Linked DNA regions of Homo sapiens: region 2 is linked to region 1. Evidence: promoter capture Hi-C in human tissues and cell types (Jung and others, 2019). All regions are on one chromosome and are shown on one strand. Each heading gives the region's core, a stretch centred on a gene start or on the middle of the fragment in contact. The rest is flanking DNA. Distances are from core to core; before and after follow the strand shown. Region 1 holds the start of SLC6A18 (solute carrier family 6 member 18). Region 2 overlaps CLPTM1L (CLPTM1 like).

Region 1 (5,772 bases), core at 1,894-4,393:
ACCACACGAGGCTGAGAGATGCAGAGGCCGCAGTGCAGCCACTGAGCAAATGCAGAGGAGAAGCAGGCTCTGCTCAGAGCAGCGGCAAAAGCCAGGGATTGCTGAGAATCAACCAGAGACACGCCCAGGGTCATGATGGAGAGACCCGCAGGAAGGCAGAAAGGAGACCGAGCCGGGAGCCGCGAGGGTGCAGACGGCAGATGGTGCTCCAGTGCCAGCCCCCACTGCCTGGGCACTGCCTCCAAGGCGTGAAGGCCGTCAAGGTGGAAACTCCCCCCGGGCAGTGTAGAAAGCAGCACAGGGCCAAGGGAGCGCCGAAGAATCTCTTCTGGAAATTGACAACCTGGTGTAAAGCTCAGAGGAAAAGTAGCAGCTGGCAAAAGTTCAAAGAATAAAAAAAAAAGGCCTTGCTCTACTACTAGGCGTCGAGACTAACGAAGAAGCCATAGTAATTAATACAGTGTCGTTTTTGGTGCAAGAATCCACAGATCTCAACAGCACCTACCAGATACAGAAGTCGGTTGAACACCGGAGGCAGGAAGTAGCGGGGAGGGGGCGCGCTTGATGAGTGACCTCACGTGTGTGGACACAGCCAGCCCAGGGCCACCAGCTTAGTCATAAAAGCTTCCTGGGTTGAAACCTTAAACCACAGCAAGTGTTAGAGTGTCCCGGGCAGCTGGCCTGAACCCATCGCTTGGCATTTACGAGTCTACGTTCCTTTGATTTAAAGACGCTGAATGTGTAATAAAGCAGCTGCCATGAAATGTCATAGGTGTGAGAAAATCACTGTAAATCTTTACCGCAACGTTTTGCTACATTCTGTTACAATGTTGCTTTACAAGTCTTAGCTTTGAAGAGAACATTTATGTAGTTGAATACTTATGAATGGGAGAGCAAATAATATTCGCCTTTGGTAGTCATGAGTATATGCAAATGTTAAAAGCTACACAGTACCTGCTTCTTAATTATATCTTGTTTTCAAAATCATCAATGAGTGATCCTCACAGCGAGACAAAGTGAAGGGCATGTTCACACACAGGGTGAGAATGCTGATGGCACGGCCCTTAGGAAGTGTGTGAGTTAAATAAACTTGGATGTTTCATGACATGCAACCCGGTGGCTTGCATCAGGAGATTGATGGTAGAGTCGTTCATGAGTGGAGCAGCCCTGAAGTCCCCGCGCAGCTGGCGGGCAGGGCTGTTCTCCCTCCTCAGCAGCACCCCAGGTGGGGGCCTCCCCAGCTTTGCCCCAGCGTGGAGCAGCTGAGTTTAAGGGAGGCTAGTGCCAGACACTTCCAGTACACTGCAGGCGCTTAGCAATGGTAACTGGGTTTCGGTGGGCAAGGCATCGGCGGGCAAGGCATCGGCGGGCAAGTCATCGGCGGGCAAGGCATCGACGGGCAAGGCGTCGGCGGGCAAGGCGTCGGCGGGCAAGGCGTCGGCGGGCAAGGGGTCGGCGGGCAAGGTGTCGGCGGGCAAGGCGTCGGCGGGCAAGGCGTTGGGCGCGTCGGCGGGCAAGGCATCGGTGGGCAAGGCATCGGTGGGCAAGGCGTCGGTGGGCAAGGCGTTGGGCAAGGCATCAGCAGGAAAGGCATCGGTGGGCAAGGCATTGGCGAACAAGGCGTTGGTGGGTAAAGCGTTGGCCGGCATTTCCAGCTCTGCGTGAAGCCTGCTGCCCCCACAACCTTGCATGCTCTGGTGACTCTTAGCAGATCGAGCCGCAGCACAGGCAGCGAGGGCCCCGGGAGCCAGGGACGCCTCTGCCCTTGGGCTTTGGTGCTTTCAGAAATGCCTTCAAAGGGACTCTCATGATGAGAAGATCCAAGGCCCAATGCACCCTCTCCAGCCCCAAAGCCCCAAAGAGACCCCAGTGCCCCGAGGGTGGCAGTGACGGGTGTTTCTTTTTGTTTTTTCCATTTGTGCGCATTTCCTGCATTTTCTGCCTGTTGAGAATCTTTTCTTAAGCAGGAGGAAAAACACTTTAAAGGAGTAACCTTATAACAAGGGATAGTTGTGCGGGGCTCTCAGGGAAGGAGCTGAGGGCCCGGGGAACAGGCTGACCAAGCAGCCCGGCCTGGCCTGAGGAGGACCCTGCGGCCTGGGAAGCCCCTGCCCGTGTTGCCTGGGGAAGACCTGGGTGTCCATGCGTGATGTTGTACGTCGGCTCCCTGAGAGCAGTGATTCATGCCTGTCCCTACATCCTGTGTCGCCACATGGAGAGCAGAGTGTGACCCCTGCATGAAGAGAAGCAGGCACAGGGTGAGGGGAGGCTCGAGGTGCGTGGGAGCCTATTTCAGTCACCAATGCACTTCTGGGGGTGGTGAGTCCAAGGTCACTAAAGTCACCCAGACAGTTCTGAACATCCTGGCACCCCCCACAGGGCTCTCCCAGAGAACCAAAGCCAGGGAGGCGAGGGGTGGGCCCCCAAATTCCTGCAAAGAACCTCGGAGAAGGGCACCTGAGCACATGTCTGGACACACCAAGGCTGTGGTGAGGAAACCCAGAGCGGATTGTGTGTTCTTTAAAGAACTGACGACATTCAGATGGAAGAGCGCTCACTGTTTGTAGGGTGTGTGTGTCGGGCAGGGCGGCCCATTCAACCTGACGCCTGGCAGGAAGCTGCCCTGAGGTCCCGGAAGACCATAGTGGACCCCGAGGGGACTGGATCCTCCGTGCTGTGGGCAGTGGTGAAGCTGCCCTGAGGTCCCAGAAGACTGCAGGTGGGCCCTGAGGGGACTGACTCTGCCGTGGGCAATGGTGCACCCTGGTTTCCAGGAGGAGTGACTCTGCCCAAGCACTGGGGATGCGTGGCAGGCGCCTGGCAGGTCAGGGTGGAGACGGCCTCCCCTGCTTAGGGGTCTGCCCCAGGACGCAGGTGGGTGCTTACCTCCTCCATAGGTCTGGCACAGGTATGGGAACCGCCAAATGTTCCCCAGTCCCACGGCAAACCCAGTGCAGCTCAGGAGGTACTGGGCCTTGTTGTCCCACTTGGGCCTCTCATCCCCGAGGTCGCAGGCGGCCGGGTCCGGTTCTGGGGCATGAGCCATGGTGACTGAGTGCCCCAGGCTTCAGGGCAAGGGTGGTGCCTCACTCCACACCCAGCACTAGAGAGCCGTCTCCAGCCTCTGCCGACGTTTGGAAACCACAAGCAGCCCCACTGCAGTTGTATTTATTCATTTCTTTAAAGGAAAACCAGTGGAGTGCCGTTAATGGGTAACTCAGGTCCAGGCCCTGGCTCTGACGCCAGGGTCCTTCCCTGGCACCCACGTCCTCTGCTCCTTCTCGCATGCTCTGTGTTCCAGGCAAACGCCGGGCCTGGCACCACCCCCAGCACCATGAGGACCGTTTGCAAGGACAGCCTCAAGTTTTTTTGTTGCAGACACCAGGATTCCCAAGACTGAGGCATATTTTAATCGTTTTAAATTTCTTATGTTTTATTTAACCATTTGATCTTGAGATACTTATAGATTGTCACTCTGTCACTGTCAGAAACAACTCAGATCAGATCGCATGCACCCGAAGCCCGGATTCCCGCAGGGATCCTCTCAGCTGCTCTTGGGAGGCCGGGGGCTGCCCTCACACCCACTGCTGCCCTCGGGCCGCTGGGCAGGACAGGGTGACAGGCACCCACCGTGCGTGGGGGCAGAGGGCTGAGTCCTCTCCTGTGCTGGGGGCACCCCTGTCCATGGGTGGAGGGTTGATGAGTTGACGCCGGGTGAGTTCAGCTCTAAGGAGCTCCCCACAGTGCTCCCTGGACTCTGGGGCTCCTCCTTGCAGATGCTCCCGCCACGGACAGGCCAAGGGCCCCCAGGCCCGCAATTGCCCCATTCCACTGGACACTGCACCCCTCAACCGTGTGGCCACAACTCCAAATCCATGAGTCCCAGGGCAGGGGCCCAGGTGGACACATTTTTGGAAGGTTCTTATTTGAGTGAGAGGAAGTGTGAGGGAAGAAGATGAGAAGAGCTGGTTGGTCCCCATTGTGAGGCCACAGGCCTGGGCCATGGCCTCTTCGGAGCAAGCCCCCAAAGCCAGACCCCCCAGGAGGAGGCAGGAGCTGGACCTGCCGTCCCCACCATCCCGTCTGAGGTCACTGGCTCACTCATCCCTCTACGTCTGGACAACAGTAACTTCTAGGGTGAGCATACTCAATAGAAGGGATTTATTTAGAAATGTACACTTTATGCCCATAAAGCCTGCATTTCTACCACATTTACAGAGACATTGAAACCTATGAAACAACGCATGAATCAGGAGATGTAGATGAGATGGGAGCTCCCGCCCAGGGTCCTATGGCAGGCACACCAGGGTACACCAATGGATGCCAGGGCACATCAGTGCACACCTGTGCATGCCAGGGTACACCAATGCACACCTGTGCACGCCTGGCAGGGCCTCCTGGGCAGATGCCACAGGGCAGCATATTAATGGGGCACTGATGGAAATTTTCTCGATCCAGGGCCAAAGAGCAGGAAAAGATGAGGTGAGACCCTGTTGAAGCCATCAGCAGGCGAGCCCCTCGGTGGCATCACAGCCGGGGGCAGAGGCTGTGATATGTCCCCCCACCTCTGCTGCTGTGGAGTCTTGCGCATCCCAGGGCCCAGTGACAGTCAGCAGGGTGAAAGGGGCTGGTAGGGGACTCAGTGTGTGCAGTCACTGCTGGATGGGGTGCTGGAAGGGACGATTGTGACCAGGTTTCTGTGGGTGGAACATCATACTGGCACACACCAGGCTTTCAGTCCTGCCTGTAGGAATTCTCAGAACATCAGTTTAATGTAAGCGTCCAGATTCTTCTATGGAAAGCAGAGGTGACCTGTCCGTAGGAACTCTCAGAACACCAGTTTAATGTAAGCATCCAGATTCTTCCATGCAAAGCGGAGGTGACCTGTCCGTAGGAACTCTCAGAACACCAGTTTAATGTAAGCATCCAGATTCTTCCGTGCAAAGCGGAGGTGACCTGTCCGTGGAAGCAGATGTCCCAAGTGCCGACTGCCTTTGGCTGCGATGGAATGTTGAACCCCAATGGGGGCCCATCCCGTGACGGGGGCAGGGCAGGCGCCAGGCTGGGCTTCACTGAGTGGTGCGGGAGCTGGAAGCTTCTGGGGGCTGCACGGTCCTCCAAGGTGCCCTGGACACACACAGTGCCCAAGGATGGCAGCCAGGGTTGAGTTACCCTGTAACCCATCTTTTCCAAAGGCTGGCTAAAAATTCACACAGCTCATGTCCTCTTAAGAAAATGCACAGAGTGGTATTTGCCTTGAATTATGCCAAGTTGAGTTTTATTTAACTGCTCATCTATTTGTGGTGGCAGGAGCAATGATTAAATGGCTGGCATTCATTAAGCCGGGAAGCGGCCAGAACGCAGAGACTCGGCAGCGGCCGACTGGAGGCAGGGCCCCGGTGGATGCGGCCAAGTTTTCTCAGAATCGCCAGCAACTGCCCACTCCGGCTTCCGAGAGGCTGCTCCGGGTCGAGGGCTACAGGGCTCTGGGAACCCCCAGGTCAAAGGTCAACACCAAGGGGAAGGGGATGGGTGGGGGTGGGTAGCAAGAGTCGCTCCCAGGAGCCAAGATAGTACCCTGTGCTTTTGTCTCCTGCCACCCACAGAGATGAAGCATAGAGGTGCTGCCCCCACCCCAGCTGCAGCTTCCGCTTCCCCCGGGCACGTGCAGGGCACAGCACGTCCCCAGTGGTCTGCTCCCCTCTGCACATGCACCCCGTGACTGTGGCAAGGACAAACACAGAGGGCAGCTGGGCCCCGAGTGGCAGGCAT
Region 2 (5,772 bases), core at 1-2,500, 95 kb before region 1:
GTCTTTCTGCAGGGGTCTATGCCTTTGGTTTCCTCTTCATGCTGCCCCAGCTCTTTGTGAACTACAAGGTAAGGCGGTGTGTGCTGCCCGCGGCCCGGCCCCCGTCTCCTGTGCTGCCCACAGCTGACCTGGGCCTGTCTCTCCTGTTTCAGTTGAAGTCAGTGGCACATCTGCCCTGGAAGGCCTTCACCTACAAGGTGAGTGTGACAGCCGGTGAGGAATCCCTTCTCACTGAGCAGAGCGTGAGCAAGGGCGTCTTCCAGCCAACAGCATTACTGGGGCCATCTCTGCCCAGAGTGCATCTGCACCTGTCCCTTTCATTGAAGAATATTGAGGAGGCTCCTTTAAAAAAAAAAGCGAAGAGCTATAGAGTAACTTCAGACCCTGAAAGACTGGGGTGGTTCTCTCACTTGTCACAGATTTGGTTTTCTTTTTCTTTTTTAGTGTTTATGTTTCTTCTTAGCACATGTGTCAAGACACAGACCCCCTGTGGCTCAGTAACCGGTGCCTGGGGACAACGGATTCAGGCCTCCCAGGCAGGAATGGAAGCCCCCATGGGCCGTGGCCATTCCCCGCTGGCAGAGCTGTGGAGGCCCCCTTGGCTCCGTGTGGGATTAGAAGTGCCTCGGCATTGCAGGCGGAGCTGAGTTAATGGGACATGATTTGCACTTTTCTGAAGTCAATTACAAGCTCCCAGAGGAAAGGGCAATGCTCAGGTGGCTCTGCCCTTGGCTCTCCCCTTGGCTGTGGTCTCGGGCGGCTCTAACCTTGGCTCTGGTCTCAGGTGGCTCTGCCCTTGGCTCTGTCTCGGGCGGCTCCAGCCTTGGCTCTGGTTTCAGGCCATTCTCTTTGGGTTCCCCGATGTGGGAGCCTGGGCAAGACCCGCAGTGTGTCGGGTGCCAGCAGCTGTGGGGAGCCCATGAGGGAACAGAGCTCCGTATCTCCACTTGCCGGCTTTCTGCTCTTTTTGTTGTTGCTGTGAGGAGTTCCAGTTAGTTCCAAGCATCTGCCAAAAGCCGTTGGCTTGGTTAGGTTACCAAAAACAGTAGGATTCCAGCCCCAGCAACTGGGGTTCACCCTCCTCCCGTCTGGCCCTGCAGGCTTTCAACACCTTCATTGATGACGTCTTTGCCTTCATCATCACCATGCCCACGTCTCACCGGCTGGCCTGCTTCCGGGACGACGTGGTGTTTCTGGTCTACCTGTACCAGCGGTGGTGAGTGCGGCTGCGTATGCTCGGCCGTTGCTCCGTCTCAGCGGCGTGGCTGCTGCTGAACGGAATGACGGCTTTCACCGCACCCTGCGCCTGTTTATCCATTTGAGGGAAAAGATAATTTGCAGGTGGTGGTTTTTCCTGTCTTGCCTAAACTTGGGTTCCAGTTGCCCATGATATGTCCTGGCAAGAAACTGTTCCAGCTCTGTCTCCTCACTGTGCTTTAGAAATGCTCGTTTCTATGTGAATTATTGATGAGCCACTGAAAGCAAATGTCTCTCCTTAAGCGATTTATTTACCTATTCACAGTCATTGCTATTGAGCAGAACAGAGACCGTAGCATGGCTAATCCATACTTGGCGCTAGCCTCGAAGTGTCCAGCCAGCAGTGTGGACCTGCAGGGCACAATGTCACTGGGGAGCTCACTCACCTCAGCATTGGCCGCACCCCTTAAACCAGCCACCAGGGCCTCTGAAGACTGCATTGCGTGGACCTCTCAGCTTGGCCTTCAGGTTGAAGGCTGACGGCTGAGGAAAAGGCTTTGTGGAATTTTCTAAAGGCAGAGGTTCAGGCCCCACCCCGGGCCTCGGAATTTTCCAAATGCAGAGGCTCAGGCCCCACCCTGGGCCTCCCGCTTCCCTCCAGGGCTGACATCTGCCCTCTCAGTCAGCAAAACCTCCCTCCAGCTCTGCTGTGCCAGGGTAGGAGCCAGGGATCTGGGGCTCCCCTCGGGAGGGTTGCATCTGGACCACTGCAAGCACTGCCCTCACCTCCAGTGCCGGCCCCAGGGCCTTGTCCAGGGGTCGAAGGAGTGTGTGTCACCCCCAAGACCTGCTGCCAAGTGTCTCAGAGCCTCCTGGCTGTGTCCTTTCTCTGGCCCTCAAGGTCCCTTTTCCCATCTCCCTCCCCCGACCAGGAGGCCACCTCACACACCACGGCTGTGACACTTCCCTGTGCCCTTCCCTCAGGGCCTGGGGCCATCCTACTAGTGCAGGAGAGGGATCCTCTTCCCCCAGGCCGTCCTGGCGGGTCCTGCCTAGGTCCGGGGTGCCGGCCCTTGGGGAGCGCAGTGCTCCCGTCCCCGCCCTGTCTCCACACTCAACCTCGCCAGGTGTTCAGAGCCTCTGTCCCAGCCAGCATGAGGCTGGCATGGTTCTGCCTGGTTTAACTCTTTGTTCGGGTGCAGTTGGCACATCCACACAGTGGCTCATGGCCGCCCTTGCCCAGCTCTCCAGGCCTGGCCGCCGGCTGCCCCCCCCCACCCTGTTGCTGTCTCGTGCAGCCCCTGCACGGGAGCTCCAGCTTGTGTCAGCGGGAAGGGCTATTTCACCATAAGCAACACTCACACTCACACGGGGCTTGGTTCCTGTCCCCCGTTCACCATTCTCAGATCCCCCAGCTGGCCGCCTGCCCCCTGCAGAGCCTGAGGTTGTCCAAGCCACGGAGCCCCGGACGCTGCTGCGCCTGGTGTGGTTGTCTCAACTGTGAGCCCTTCAAGTGGCTCCCAAGTCCTCGCAGGTGGCCCGGGGCGTGCCTGAAACTGTGCTGTACTCAGGCTCTGTGTTAATGGCTCCAGACCTGCAAACGGTGTTTGGCCAGGATCACAGGGCCCTTGGTGGGCAGCAGGTCTGTTTTTAAGCTGAAACCCTGTACTTCTGTTCGCGGCCGTGTAGAGCTGCCCCTTATGCCACAGCTTCCTCATCCATACGTAGGGGTGATGTTGGCAAGGCCTCCGGGGCGCTCAGGATCAAAGGCGGCGGCAGTGTCCTGCCAAGTGTTCACAGCTGATGAGACGTGGTCCCTGAACACAGCGGTTCCTGTTCTGATCACTCGAGTCTCCGTGATGCCACCGTTCCCAGAAGGCAGCCCGTGCAGCCTCCGGGTCCCCCCTTCAGCCATGGCAGCCCGTGCAGCCTCCGGGTCGTCCCTTCGGCCAAGCTTCCCTTTCCTTGAGAGCAGCACGCTGGCCTGGCCATGCAGAACAAAACACAACTCAGAAATCCCTCCTCAGCCCTCGGCAGTAAAACTTCTGAGGATTCGACTTTTTAGTTAATTTGCTCACTGTGGCAGCTCACTGGAAAATAAATCGAGGATGCCAAGTCCTCCTCTTAGAAAAATAGCCCCTGCAGTGGGGTTTGCTGATGTGCTCATTTGTGTCATTGCAGGCTTTATCCTGTGGATAAACGCAGAGTGAACGAGTTTGGGGAGTCCTACGAGGAGAAGGCCACGCGGGCGCCCCACACGGACTGAAGGCCGCCCGGGCTGCCGCCAGCCAAGTGCAACTTGAATTGTCAATGAGTATTTTTGGAAGCATTTGGAGGAATTCCTAGACATTGCGTTTTCTGTGTTGCCAAAATCCCTTCGGACATTTCTCAGACATCTCCCAAGTTCCCATCACGTCAGATTTGGAGCTGGTAGCGCTTACGATGCCCCCACGTGTGAACATCTGTCTTGGTCACAGAGCTGGGTGCTGCCGGTCACCTTGAGCTGTGGTGGCTCCCGGCACACGAGTGTCCGGGGTTCGGCCATGTCCTCACGCGGGCAGGGGTGGGAGCCCTCACAGGCAAGGGGGCTGTTGGATTTCCATTTCAGGTGGTTTTCTAAGTGCTCCTTATGTGAATTTCAAACACGTATGGAATTCATTCCGCATGGACTCTGGGATCAAAGGCTCTTTCCTCTTTTGTTTGAGAGTTGGTTGTTTTAAAGCTTAATGTATGTTTCTATTTTAAAATAAATTTTTCTGGCTGTGGCATTTTTCTTGACCTGGTATAATGAAAGTATTTCGGATATTTGAGTTTAACCCTTTTCCAGAAAGTAATACATGATATGGATTTATTTATGCATTAAAAGAGCAAATTTAAAGAGCCCTTTGCAAGCCTTTGAGTCATGAGTGTTCTTAGATACGTAGCATCTTAGTTGTTTAAGACTAAACTATTGTACAGAGCCATGACCCATCAGGTCAAGCTTATCTTGCCCTAGGTTGAGGCAGAGAGAGAGAAATGGAATAGAAAGATGGGTGGAGAACTGCTGGACTCGGTGTGTAGTGAAGTTTAATGTTTGTTGAAGTTAGTTTTTGTGGGGTTTGTTGTTCTCAGCTCACAGCAGCCTCCACCTCCCATGTTCACACAATCTTCTTGCCTCAGCCTCCTGAGTAGCTGCGACTACAAGTGTGCACCACCACATCCAGCTTTTTTGTATTAATATTTTTAGTAGAGATGTGGTTTTGCCATGTTGTCCAGGCTGGTCTCGAACTCCTGATCTCAAGTGATCACCCGCCTTGGCCTTTTGAAGTGCTGGGAGTACAGGCATGAGCCACCACACCTGGCCTCTAAATATATAATCTTTTTTTATTCCTGGTCATTTCCTTGCTCTAAGTCTCCTTTGCCAATAACAGCTTTCATCCTCTTGTGTTTCTGGAACAGGCTCCCCTCTCATGGGCCTGGCTTCCTTGCAGCTGAGGGGCTTTGGGAGCCCTGCTCAGAGCCCCAAGCCTGCAGGCCTGTTCCATGTGTCTCCACGTAAATGGACGAGACACACCATTCCAGGATGCTCATTCAGGCTGAGAACCAAATCCAGATGCTCTCAGTCCATTCGCAGATGACAGTGAAGTTTCTGTACACTCTGCTTTCTTCTGGATCAGATAAATCTTTTATAATTAAGGTGTTGTAAACTTCACTCGATTTGAGAGGAATGCACTGGGGCTTCAAGTTGTCATCTTTCAGTTTTATTCATTAAAATACGAAGATACCAGATGAGTTGGCACAGGAAAACAAATACGAATACACGGCCTGTACTGTGTTACTTAGTCGTGTGTTGTAAGTGGGGTCTGGAAGGGTGGCTGGGAGAGCGGGTGAACTGCCGGTTCCAGATGGGACGCACAGCACCTTAAGGGGCCTGGGGGGGCACACGGGAGGCGGCTCCAGAGGCAGGGCAGATAGTGGGGGCCCGCAGGCAAGTCAGCAGTGGGGGAAAGACAGCAGAAGGCGTGAGGGTCTTCATTGGTGTATGTGAAGGTCACGAGGTCACACGGCCCTGCCCATCACAGGTGCGTCGGTCTGCGGGGAAGTTGAGGCATCAGGGAACAGGAAGTTTTAAACGTTTACAATGGATCTTACCCACACAGGCCGTGCCTTTGCCTGCGGTGTCAGATTACTAGGGCGGGGTGCGGTGGAGGGTGTCCCTTCCACACCTGTGGTTTTATTTGTCTTTGGGGGAGGGGAGCCTTGCTTTATAAAACACAACTGGCTGTGTTCTGTAAGGCTTCACCCAGCACATCCTGTTGGCAGCAGCTAAGCACACAAACGGGAAAGGAGTATCGCCCAACTCCACCGATGAACTCAAAGTGCCTGGCTTTGCCTGGGGGATGCTGGCAAGGTTAGGTGCGGTTCCCAGCGTTTCTTCTGCCTCCTGGGGCACATCCCGCGGTGGGTCAGCGCCTGCGGCCGGCTGCTGCAGAAATAGCGTCATTCGGCCCCTGCATCAGCAGCCAAAGCCGGGCCTAACTGTCAGGAGCTCCGTGGATAGCTTTGCTGCTCTCGCTTTTCAGTTTCAGTATCAAA

What was found. Contacts are between HindIII fragments. The study calls those that stand out against the background at their distance.
Region 2: a fragment that was not itself captured here is called in contact with the fragment with the promoter of SLC6A18 in region 1 in 2 of the 25 tissues and cell types used here (liver and thymus).

What each region holds. Positions count from the first base shown.
Region 1 is chr5:1,222,752-1,228,523 of GRCh38, reverse strand. It overlaps SLC6A18 (solute carrier family 6 member 18), which reads right to left and starts at 3,143. Exons shown (of 12, transcript NM_182632.3): 1 at 2,887-3,143. The coding sequence starts at 3,046. SLC6A19 (solute carrier family 6 member 19) reads right to left here. Exons shown (of 12, transcript NM_001003841.3): 12 at 3,413-5,772. RefSeq lists an enhancer at 2,207-2,749. The HindIII fragment of the contact is 11,488 bases long and covers 1-5,772 here.
Region 2 is chr5:1,316,060-1,321,831 of GRCh38, reverse strand. CLPTM1L (CLPTM1 like) reads left to right here. Exons shown (of 17, transcript NM_030782.5): 14 at 13-68; 15 at 153-197; 16 at 1,101-1,216; 17 at 3,379-4,080. The coding sequence ends at 3,463. Among named protein-coding and RNA genes, the nearest start is that of MIR4457, 9.6 kb to the right of the region's middle. RefSeq lists a cis regulatory region at 1,811 and enhancers at 1,739-1,883, 5,087-5,236, 5,527-5,772. The HindIII fragment of the contact is 8,012 bases long and covers 1-5,256 here.